Linked DNA regions of Homo sapiens: regions 2 and 3 are each linked to region 1. The links are contacts of gene promoters, found by promoter capture Hi-C in blood cells and fetal thymus (Javierre and others, 2016). All regions are on one chromosome and are shown on one strand. Each heading gives the region's core, a stretch centred on a gene start or on the middle of the fragment in contact. The rest is flanking DNA. Distances are from core to core; before and after follow the strand shown. Region 1 holds the start of STX2 (syntaxin 2). Region 2 overlaps EP400 (E1A binding protein p400). Region 3 has its middle 8.0 kb from the start of ULK1.

What was found. Contacts are between HindIII fragments. The CHiCAGO score rates a contact against its expected background, and 5 or more counts as called.
Region 2: a fragment that was not itself captured here is called in contact with the fragment with the promoter of STX2 in region 1 in 1 of 17 cell types (monocytes); the score reaches 5.7 in monocytes.
Region 3: a fragment that was not itself captured here is called in contact with the fragment with the promoter of STX2 in region 1 in 1 of 17 cell types (total B cells); the score reaches 5.7 in total B cells.

What each region holds. Positions count from the first base shown.
Region 1 is chr12:130,837,694-130,840,759 of GRCh38, reverse strand. STX2 (syntaxin 2) reads left to right here and starts at 1,510. Exons shown (of 11, transcript NM_194356.4): 1 at 1,510-1,690. The coding sequence starts at 1,661. RefSeq lists silencers at 1,307-1,816, 1,887-1,946. The HindIII fragment of the contact is 18,553 bases long and covers 1-2,512 here.
Region 2 is chr12:132,077,610-132,080,675 of GRCh38, reverse strand. It overlaps EP400 (E1A binding protein p400), which reads right to left. Exons shown (of 53, transcript NM_015409.5): 53 at 216-3,066. The coding sequence ends at 3,003. Among named protein-coding and RNA genes, the nearest start is that of SNORA49, 48 kb to the right of the region's middle. The HindIII fragment of the contact is 497 bases long and covers 1,414-1,910 here.
Region 3 is chr12:131,885,074-131,888,139 of GRCh38, reverse strand. No RefSeq gene overlaps it. Among named protein-coding and RNA genes, the nearest start is that of ULK1, 8.0 kb to the left of the region's middle. The HindIII fragment of the contact is 6,226 bases long and covers 1-3,066 here.

The DNA of each region.
Region 1 (3,066 bases), core at 261-2,760:
GGGGAAGTTCAGGATATGGAGAGAAAAAACATATCTTTTTTTTTTTTTTGGAGACGGAGTCTCGCTTTACTGTCCAGGCTGGAGTGCAGTGGTGCGATCTTGGCTCACTGCAAGCTCCACCTCCCGGGTTCAAGCAATTCTCATGCATCAGCCTCCTGAGTAGCTGGGATTACAGGTGCCCGCCACCACACTCACCTGGACAACTGGCTGTCAAGACCTTCCATCGGGTAACAGAACCACATCACACCTAGAACCAAGTCCAAAACGTCCTGTTTTTTAATGTGTAGCCTGTTGCTCTCAAGCAGATTTCTTAGCGCTGCCTTCTGGTCAGACCAAAGCCACCTCCTCCAGGAGGCAGTAAAGACTTTAACCTTGTTTAAAAACAAATCTGGCCTTGCCTTCTCCTCCTGGAAGGCAATCTTTGTTTGCCTGGGAGTCTTCGGCTAGCCAGAGAGTAACAGTGTGATTTATGGTGGGGGCTTAGGGTTACATGGATATCACTTAACCAAGAGGCTGAGATCAAGCATGAAAGCAATCAAACAATCAATCAATCATGCACATGCAATGGAGCCCAGTAAACGTTCTGCACACTGTGGCTCAAGTGAGCTTCCCTGGCTGGCAGTACTTCGTGTGTAAGGCCACACATCAGTGCAGGGCAAGTAATGAGGCCTGACTACACAGGGAGAGGACCACGGGAGGACCTTGAAGCTGCACGCCGTAATCCCCAGACTCCCCCTCTGCCCTTCTTCCTTGGCTGATGTTAATCCGTATCATTTTCCTGCTAAGAAACCATAGTTGTGAGTACAGTAGTTTTTAGTGTATTCTGTGATTCCTTCTAGCAAATTATGGAACTTGAAGGTGGTTTTGGAAACCGCCAGAATTTGCCGTTGGTGTCAGAGGTGATAATGGTCTTGGGGACTGTTCCCCCAACCTGGGTAGTTCACCTAAGCTCCTGCACCTTCATGACGACCTCTCTGCCAGTTCCGTGCCCATGCCCTTACTTTCTTTTCTCATCTATCATTTATTTGTCTGTGTCTGTATTGCCTGTTTCTCCTGCCAGAATGGTATCCCAGGGCTGGGCCTGCGGACGCTCTTCCCGTTACCGCCCCCTGCCGTGTTATGCTCCGTAAGCATCATGTGTGGTACACGATCTCTTCTCCTTCATTCACACCCGAGGCTGCGCGTGGACCCTTAAAGAGAAGGTTCGGCATATGTATTACCCAAAGCTGCACCCAGCACATTCCGGGAGCTTTGCTCTTTTGTCACTATTCGTTGAATGCTCTATATTTTGATAAATAAAACAATGAGTGTGAAAGCATAAAAGCAGATCAAGGGACAAACAGCACGTGTAGCGGAACTGCCAGCCTGGGGCTCGGCCGGACCCCGCCCCTCCCCGCCTAGGCCCCGCCCCCAGGCCCCGCCCCTCCGGGCTCCCGCTGGAAAGCGCTGCCGCCGTGTGGGTGGGTGCGGGGCGCGGCGCGGGCCGGGCATGCGCAGAGCGCGCGGGGCGCGGTTGCCGTGGCAGCGCCGGCTCCAGGGAGGGCTGCTGGCGCCGGGCCGGGACCGCGGGGCCTGAGGCGGAGACCGGAGAGCCCGAGGCCCGGCCGGAGGCAGCTCGGGACAGGCTTGAGCGGCGGGGCGCGCTGCCCGGCCGGCGGGGATGCGGGACCGGCTGCCAGACCTGACGGCGGTGAGCGGCAGCCGCGGGTAGCGGTTCAGGCCCGGCCGGGGCGGCGTCTGGAGGGCGGGCGGGGGCTCGGGGCGTCTTGGGCGGGGCTCCGGGAGGGTCCCCAGGGCGGGGATCTCCGGCGTTCTGGGGCGGGGGCTGCGGGCAGGGTCTCAGGGAGTCCTGAGCGGGGACTGCTGGTGGGGTCCCCAGGGCGGGGGTCCCGGGAGTCCTAGGGTGGGGGCTCCGGGCGGGGTCCCCAGGGCTTCCTGGGCGGAGTCCTCAGGGCGGGTTGGGGCAGGAGGAGGGAGCGGGGAAGGTCCCGGCCTCGACCCCCTCTTCGAGCGTGGCTCCCTGTCCGTCACTCCGCTTGGCGGATTGTATCTGGCGCTTACCCAGCCGGAGCCCACTGGCCTAACTGTGGTCCGCCCCACGGGGTCCCCGCAGCTGGCGTCAGCCCCGGGGAGCAGGCCGGGTCCTCTTGGTCGCTGCTTTATCCCTGGGGCTTCACAAAGGACTGTGCACCAAGCGGGAGGCAACAGATGGGTGTGAAATGTGGGCACCTTAGAGTGCTGGGTGCTTGGGGTGGGGCGAGCGCGAACAGCAGCTTGTGTCTGATCTCCCAGTAGTTTGCTTTGGAAACTGGGACCGTGTGTTGACTCTGAACGCACCTTACGCGCCCAGCAGCCGGGCACACAGCAAGTTACTGTTTACTTTAGCAAGGGAAAAGCAGGTCACTAAAAATTTTGGAAGGATTTCGATGCATTCTACACGTGTAAAGGTGACAGGACTGTGCATGGTGCAGTGACAGCGGAATGATAGTGATGGTCGTGCACTTTCCAAGCTTGTCTAACCCAGGACGGCTTAGGCCAGCAGAAGTAGTTATGACTTTTTCCCTTTACAATACAGGTACTAATTCATGCTACGTGTGTGCACAGATAGAGCCTCTGGTCTCTAAATTGTTGGCAGCCTCAGAACAGGGGTGCTAAGGCCCACAGCCCTACGACACCCACTGCATGTAATGAATTATTCTCTCTCCTCTGCTGCTAGAATGGAGCTGTTATGTACCCCCGAGTGGGAGAATAGAGAAAAGAGCCACTTAAATCATTATCTGTGTTCTGTGGTTCAGATGAGGAGCTCTGGTTGAGAAAGGCAATGATTTCATCCTTAGGATCATGGAAATTATGCTTTATATTCATTCCAAGGAAGTTTCTTCACGGTGATTTTTCCTTTTTTATTAATGGACAAATATTCCCTGTGTTCCGCAGATCAATATCATCTTAAACACAGCAAATTATAGTTGTGTTGTCTTGCCCGATGGATTATCTTTCAGTGCCGTGTAGTAGGAGCTCAGGTATTTATTTAATGAAGAAAAGCTGTGGCTCACTCCTGTAATCCCA
Region 2 (3,066 bases), core at 413-2,912, 1.2 Mb before region 1:
TTTCCTCCACGTGCGGCTTTGGGAAGCGGCTGCCTGGTGGACTTGGTGAATGTGATTTCTGTTCCTTCCAGGTCCTTCTATGGCCACGGAAGAGTGGGTGAGGGGAACACCTCTGGCTCCAACATTACTTGTTGGTTTTTTCTTCACACAAATGAAAAATTCAGCATCTCATTTAACTTAAATACCAGTTTTCTATGAAAGACAAAATGAAAAAATATATAAAAAGGTCACTTTATTTTGCCTTTTGTTTGGTATGCTATCAATGCCCTTTAAAATCCTACTATTCAAGTACAAATGCTGATGTTTACAAAGTATTTACAATTTTAGTCTTGTTCCTTTCTATCTTAAAACACAACAGCTAACTGGTTACAACAGTTAACAAAATAATAATAATAAAGGTCACAAAAAGAGAAACCCCTGTCTTATCAGGCACCAAATCTGAACAAGGGCTTGGATCCAACCTTCTGCTTCCCGCCAGGTGCTTTAAAAACAGTCTGGCTAACTGTTTTTATCATCAGAATAAACGTCTTTCTTTAAAGAATAGCAGGGCAACTGTTTCCCAGGGTCGCCAATTAGAGTCTGACAGTGTTCGGGCTGCTGCCTTTATAGTCTGTGTTCTCAAAGTTTCCAACTCTTACTTGCCGTATTGGAATGAACCCAGATTCACAAGGGGAAGGCCTAGACAACAGCTTCCTGAACGCGTACTTAATTCTTAGGTTAGAAACTTTAACCTTTAAAAGGGAAGGCCAAGAAAATAACACACTAAAAGGAGAGTTTTTACGTACACGACTAAATGAATTTAACTCAGGTCAACGGTAGCATCTAGAAGTTACTAAATTGAGTGCTACGAGTAAAAATATGTCCGTGTTTTGTATTAGGGAACAGCCAAAGGAAACACACTTGAGAGACAGGAGACCCTCACTGACGTGAGATCGGGGCGGAAACTCCACATTGCAAATATTCAGAATCCCATTAAGCTCTCCAAAAAAGCATTTGAGAGATGGTGTTAAATTCTCTTGTAGTGTTTTAGATTAATAGAGCGCTTTTACTTAGACAGTTATGTCTAGGATATTCTAAAATAAGTGCACTCAACATTTTATCTTCAACTATAAGGAGACTACCAAGATTTGGGAAAGACAAAAAAAATGAACAGGGCACACAAATTAAAACAAATGACAAAGGCAGAATTCCTAGATACTTCAGTTCTATCACATCTGCGGATGAGGAGGAGTAAAAGTTTCCACTGGGAGCCAGATGTGAGGCGCACACAGCGGCCCTCCCTCCGGCAAGCTGCGCTCTCACGGCACGTGCCAAGCCAGGGAGAACGGGTTGGTTAGAACAAACAGATTCCAGTCCTCTGCTTTGGTATGTTCAACTAACTAAAAGATTAATTTCTTCTGTTTCTTCAAAGCTTGGTTTTTACTTTTCTCCACATTTCTTATCAAGAGCTCAAGTGAGCTCCCCAGTTGATTTCACTGACTCCTGCTGTATCGCTGTCCACAGAAACCTGTGGGACAGAATACCTTCCTCAATGTCACTTAAAGTGAGAGAATGGGGAGGAAGCAGATGAAATACAATTTAAAAACAGAAAATCTTTATTGTGCCATAACTGATTTTTAGTATACAAAAAACCTAATATAACCTAATTTCCTGGACCAAATAATGTAAAATAGGCCAAAATCAAGCCACAGCACAAAGGATACTATTGGATATGGACCTTTTTGCTTTGGTGAAAACTTCAAAGTAAGGAGACACTGTCAATCAATTCCACTAAAATTGCATTTATTTTCCTGTCATAGTAAAAAAAGGAAAAACAGTAGCAAATACTGGGCTTCGTTTTCCCCCTCAACGGCACGCCTTCCACAACAGCACAGGTGGTTCTCTGCTTCACTGGCAGAACCACACAAGCTTATCCTAGAGAAAATCTGCTGTCGTAAGTCCACAAGGAAGAGTTGACTGGGCCCACCGCTATAGCCAATACTTCCAGAATCACCAGCCCACCTTCGTCAAAGGGCTGACTGTGGCAGCAAGGGGTGTCTGTCACATTCGTCCTGGCTCACTGAGCCCAGGCCTCATCGTACCCTCAGCTGTGACATCTGTACTACCATTGCCTCTGCGTGGTCCTCTGGGCCTCACGCCAGCCATGGCAGAGTGTCCCAAAGGTTCTCAGGAGCTGTTTAACACACTATGTCAAATACCAGCTTCCCCCGAAAACTGGAGATGCGTCTTGAGTGCACTGAGTTGGGCATCAGTCCCAGAAGTTTCCATTAAATGAAAGCGAATCCCATTGCAGGGTAGGGCCTGGGGGAGGCCACTGTTGGCTGCTCTTTGGAATAACAATGCAATGACTGATCATTTCCCTTGAACACAGGCCAGGAACGTGCCTTGTGTGTTTAGGTGGGTGTCAGAACATTTCTCTTAAAAGTTAAGTCATATTTTAGGAGGGAAGGAAGGAACCATATTGCCTTTCTTTGGAATGGAAAACCCATCTCGGATGATTGACTTTAGACAGGCCTTCCCCTCTGCGAAGACCACGAGGCATTTTTCAGTAAGGTATAAAGAACTAAACTCTGGCAGACACTGTGGAAGCCCACGCCTTATCTTTAGAAAGTCCATTGTATGCTCCTCACACACGGCAGACGGCTTCTGTGGCGTGCAAAGCACTACATGCTCACAAAGAAATTCTAAATGGCTTTCAGAACACAGTACTATGGCTCTAGGGGACGGGTGCGGGTGGGGACTGAAAGGTGAAATGATTTAGAGGAAGCCATGTTGTCACTTTTTCCATGAGCCACGTAGTACAGAGAACGCGGCACTCCATAAGGACCATTTGTCCTGCAGTGTGGGATGCATTTTAATAAAATGATTACACTATTTTGTTTCAATTATATCTTTCCCAGTGCTGAATCTCTTGCGTGACATGGTCCCAAGGTTCACTAATAAAGCGTTTTCTGTGAGGAAGGTAGTTTTGCTTTAGATGAGAGGCAGCCCTGCTGCCCTGACTACTGGCACGGAGGCTTAGTAGGTGTCTTTAGCCTGACAGCAGGGACCCTCATCTGTAACTTG
Region 3 (3,066 bases), core at 260-2,759, 1.0 Mb before region 1:
TCTCGCTCTGTCACCCAGGCTGGAGTGCAGTGGCACAATCTCGGCTCACTGCAACCTCTGCCTCCCGGGTTCAAGCAATTCTCCTGCCTCAGCCTCCTGAGTACCTGGGATTACAGGCACAGGCCGCCACACCCGGCGAATCTTTTTTGTATTTTAGTAGAGACGGGGTTTCACTGTGTTGCCTAGGCTGGTGTTGAACTCCTGAGCTCAGGCAGTCTGCCTACCTTGGCCTCCCAAAGTGCTGGGATTACAGGCATGAGCCACCGTGCCCAGCCTACATTTTTTATTTTTAGTAGAGATGGGGTTTCACAATGTTGGCCAGGCTGGTCTCAGTGATCCTCCTGACCTCAAGTGATCCACCCGCCTTAGCCTCCCAAAGTGCTAGGATTACAGGCGTGAGCCACTGAACCCGGCCTGACTGTGGTTTTGATTTGCATTTCTCTAACCACTAGTGATGTTGAACATCTTTGTGAGGACTAAACTCATATTTTTTATCTTGCCCAAATTCTTATCTAAGGGGTCTAGAGAGTCATGCCCTACAAACCATAAATTCTCATCAGATGGGTTTTATTTAATCCTATATATTGTGACTTAATTTTTTTTTTTTTAGACAGAGTCTCTCTCTGTCACTCAGGCTGGAGTGGAGTGGCACAATCTCAGCTCACTGCAACTTCTGCCTCCCAGGTTCAAGTGATTCTCCTGCCTCAGCCTCCCAAGTAGCTGGGATTACAGGCACCTGCCACCACACCCAGCTAATTTTTGTATTGTTAGTAGAGACAGGGTTTCTCCATGTTGGTCAGGCTGGTCTCGAACTCTCAACCTCAGGTGATCCACCTGCCTCAGCCTCCCAAAGGGCTGGGATTACAGGCATGAGCCACCACGCCCCACCCAGTTTGTGTATTTTTAGTAGAGAGGGGGTTTCTCCATGTTGGCCAGGCTGGTCTCGAACTCCTGACCTCAGGTGATCTGCCACCTTGGCCTCCCAAAGTGCTGGGATTACAGGTGTGAGCCACTGCGCTGGTAGCCTTTTTTTTTTTTTTTTTGAGACTGAGTCTCGCTCTGTTGCCCAGGCTGCAGTGCAGTGGCGCGATCTCGGCTCACTGCAAGCTCCGCCTCCCAGGTTCACGCCATTCTCCTGCCTCAGCCTCCTGAGTAGCTGGGACTATAGGTACCTGCCACCATGCCTGGCTAATTTTTTTTTTTTTTTTGAGATGGAGTCTCCCTCTGTCACCCAGGCTGGAGTGCAGTGGCGCGATCTCAGCTCACTGCAAGCTCCGCCTCCCGGGTTCACACCATTCTCCTCCTCAGCCTCCCCAGTAGCCGGGACTACAGGCGCCTGCCACCACACCTGGCTAATTTTTTGTATTTTTTTTTTTTTTTTTTTTTTTGAGACGGAGTCTCGCTCTGTCGCCCAGGCTGGAGTGCAGTGGCGCGATCTCGGCTCACTGCAAGCTCCACCTCCCGGGTTCACGCCATTCTCCTGCCTCAGCCTCCCACGTAGCTGGGACTACAGGTGCCCGCCACCACGCCCGGCTAATTTTTTTGTATTTTTTAGTAGAGACGGGGTTTCACTGTGTTAGCTAGGATGGTCTCGATCTCCTGACCTCGTGATCCACCCGCCTTGGCCTCCCAAAGTGCTGGGATTGCAGGCGTGAGCCACCGCGCCCGGCCTGGTTAGCCATATTTTGAAGGCTTTGCAAAGCCCTCCTTTGTGGGGAAAAATTTGCATCTGTGAAGAATCTCTATTAACATAGCTAGATCTTTTTCTTTCAGGCCCTCCCAATCCTAAAGAGATTAACTTAAAGTCTAGCATAGGAATTATTTGTCACTTACTGTCTCTCTAAGGGCAGCCATTGTAAGACCTCAAAGAAACTTTAGCCTCCACAATCTTTTCTCTTAACCTGAACATTTCCTTTCTATGGATCCCAGGTTTTTAGACAAACTCAACCAATTGTCAACCAGAAAATGTTTAAATTTACCTATAGCCTGGAGGCCTGCCCACCACCCCTTTGAGTTGTCTCGCCCTTCTGGACCAAACAGTGTCTTTCTTTAATGTATTTGATTGATGTCTCCTGTCTCCCTAAAATGTATAAAACCAAGCTGCGCCCCGACCACCTTGGGCATGTGTTCCCGGGACCCCCTGAGGCTGTGTCACAGGTCAGGGTCACTCATGTTTGGCTCAGAATAAATCTCTTCAAATATTTTACAGATTTTGACTCTTTTTGTCAACATTTGCAGGTGCTTACTGGCCACTTGTGTATCTCCTTTGGAGAAATGCCTATTCAAGTGCTTTGCCCATTTTGTAATCTGGTGGCTTGATTTTTTGCTGTTGAGTTGTGGGAGTTGGTTATGTATTCTGAATGTTAACTGCCTGCTTTTGTAAATAAAGTTTTCCTGAAGCCATGGTCTGCGTTTATTGGTTGTTTCTGCCTTCTTTAGTGCTACTGACATCGCCTTTGTAAAATTATGACTGAGACAGTGAAAGATCTAACTTAACCGACTCCATCTTCCTTCTAACCTCCAAGCTGTCTTTGTTCATTCCTGGGCGTAGGCTGAACTAACTTTGGGAGAAACTTAGCTTGTAGTTTACAGTTTAAACAAAGACGGTAACAGCCCTTTCCCAAAGCAAACCTCCTTCTTGCCTAACATTAGCCACAGGATTAGAAATTACGGTTTAGGAGCCATGCAGCTGGAGGCTACAAGATTCTGACCCTCCCTAAACTGCTCCTAAGATCAGCGCTTGAGATATTTTGCAGACCCTGCACTTGATGGATCAGCTGGCACCACCCAGATGGATAAACAGGCTCGTCAGATCTTGTGGCCCCCACCCAGGAACTGACTCAGTGCAAGAGGAAAGACAGCTTTGACTTGCTATGATTTCATCTCTGACCAATCAGCATCCTGGCTCACTGGCTTCCCCCCACCAACCAAGTTATCCTTAAAAACTCTACTCCCTTGCAGGATGCGGGTGGCTCACACCTGTAATCCCAGCACTTTGCGAGGCTGAAGCAGGTGTATCACGAGGTCAGGAGATCGAGACCATCCTGACTAACACGGTGAAACCCC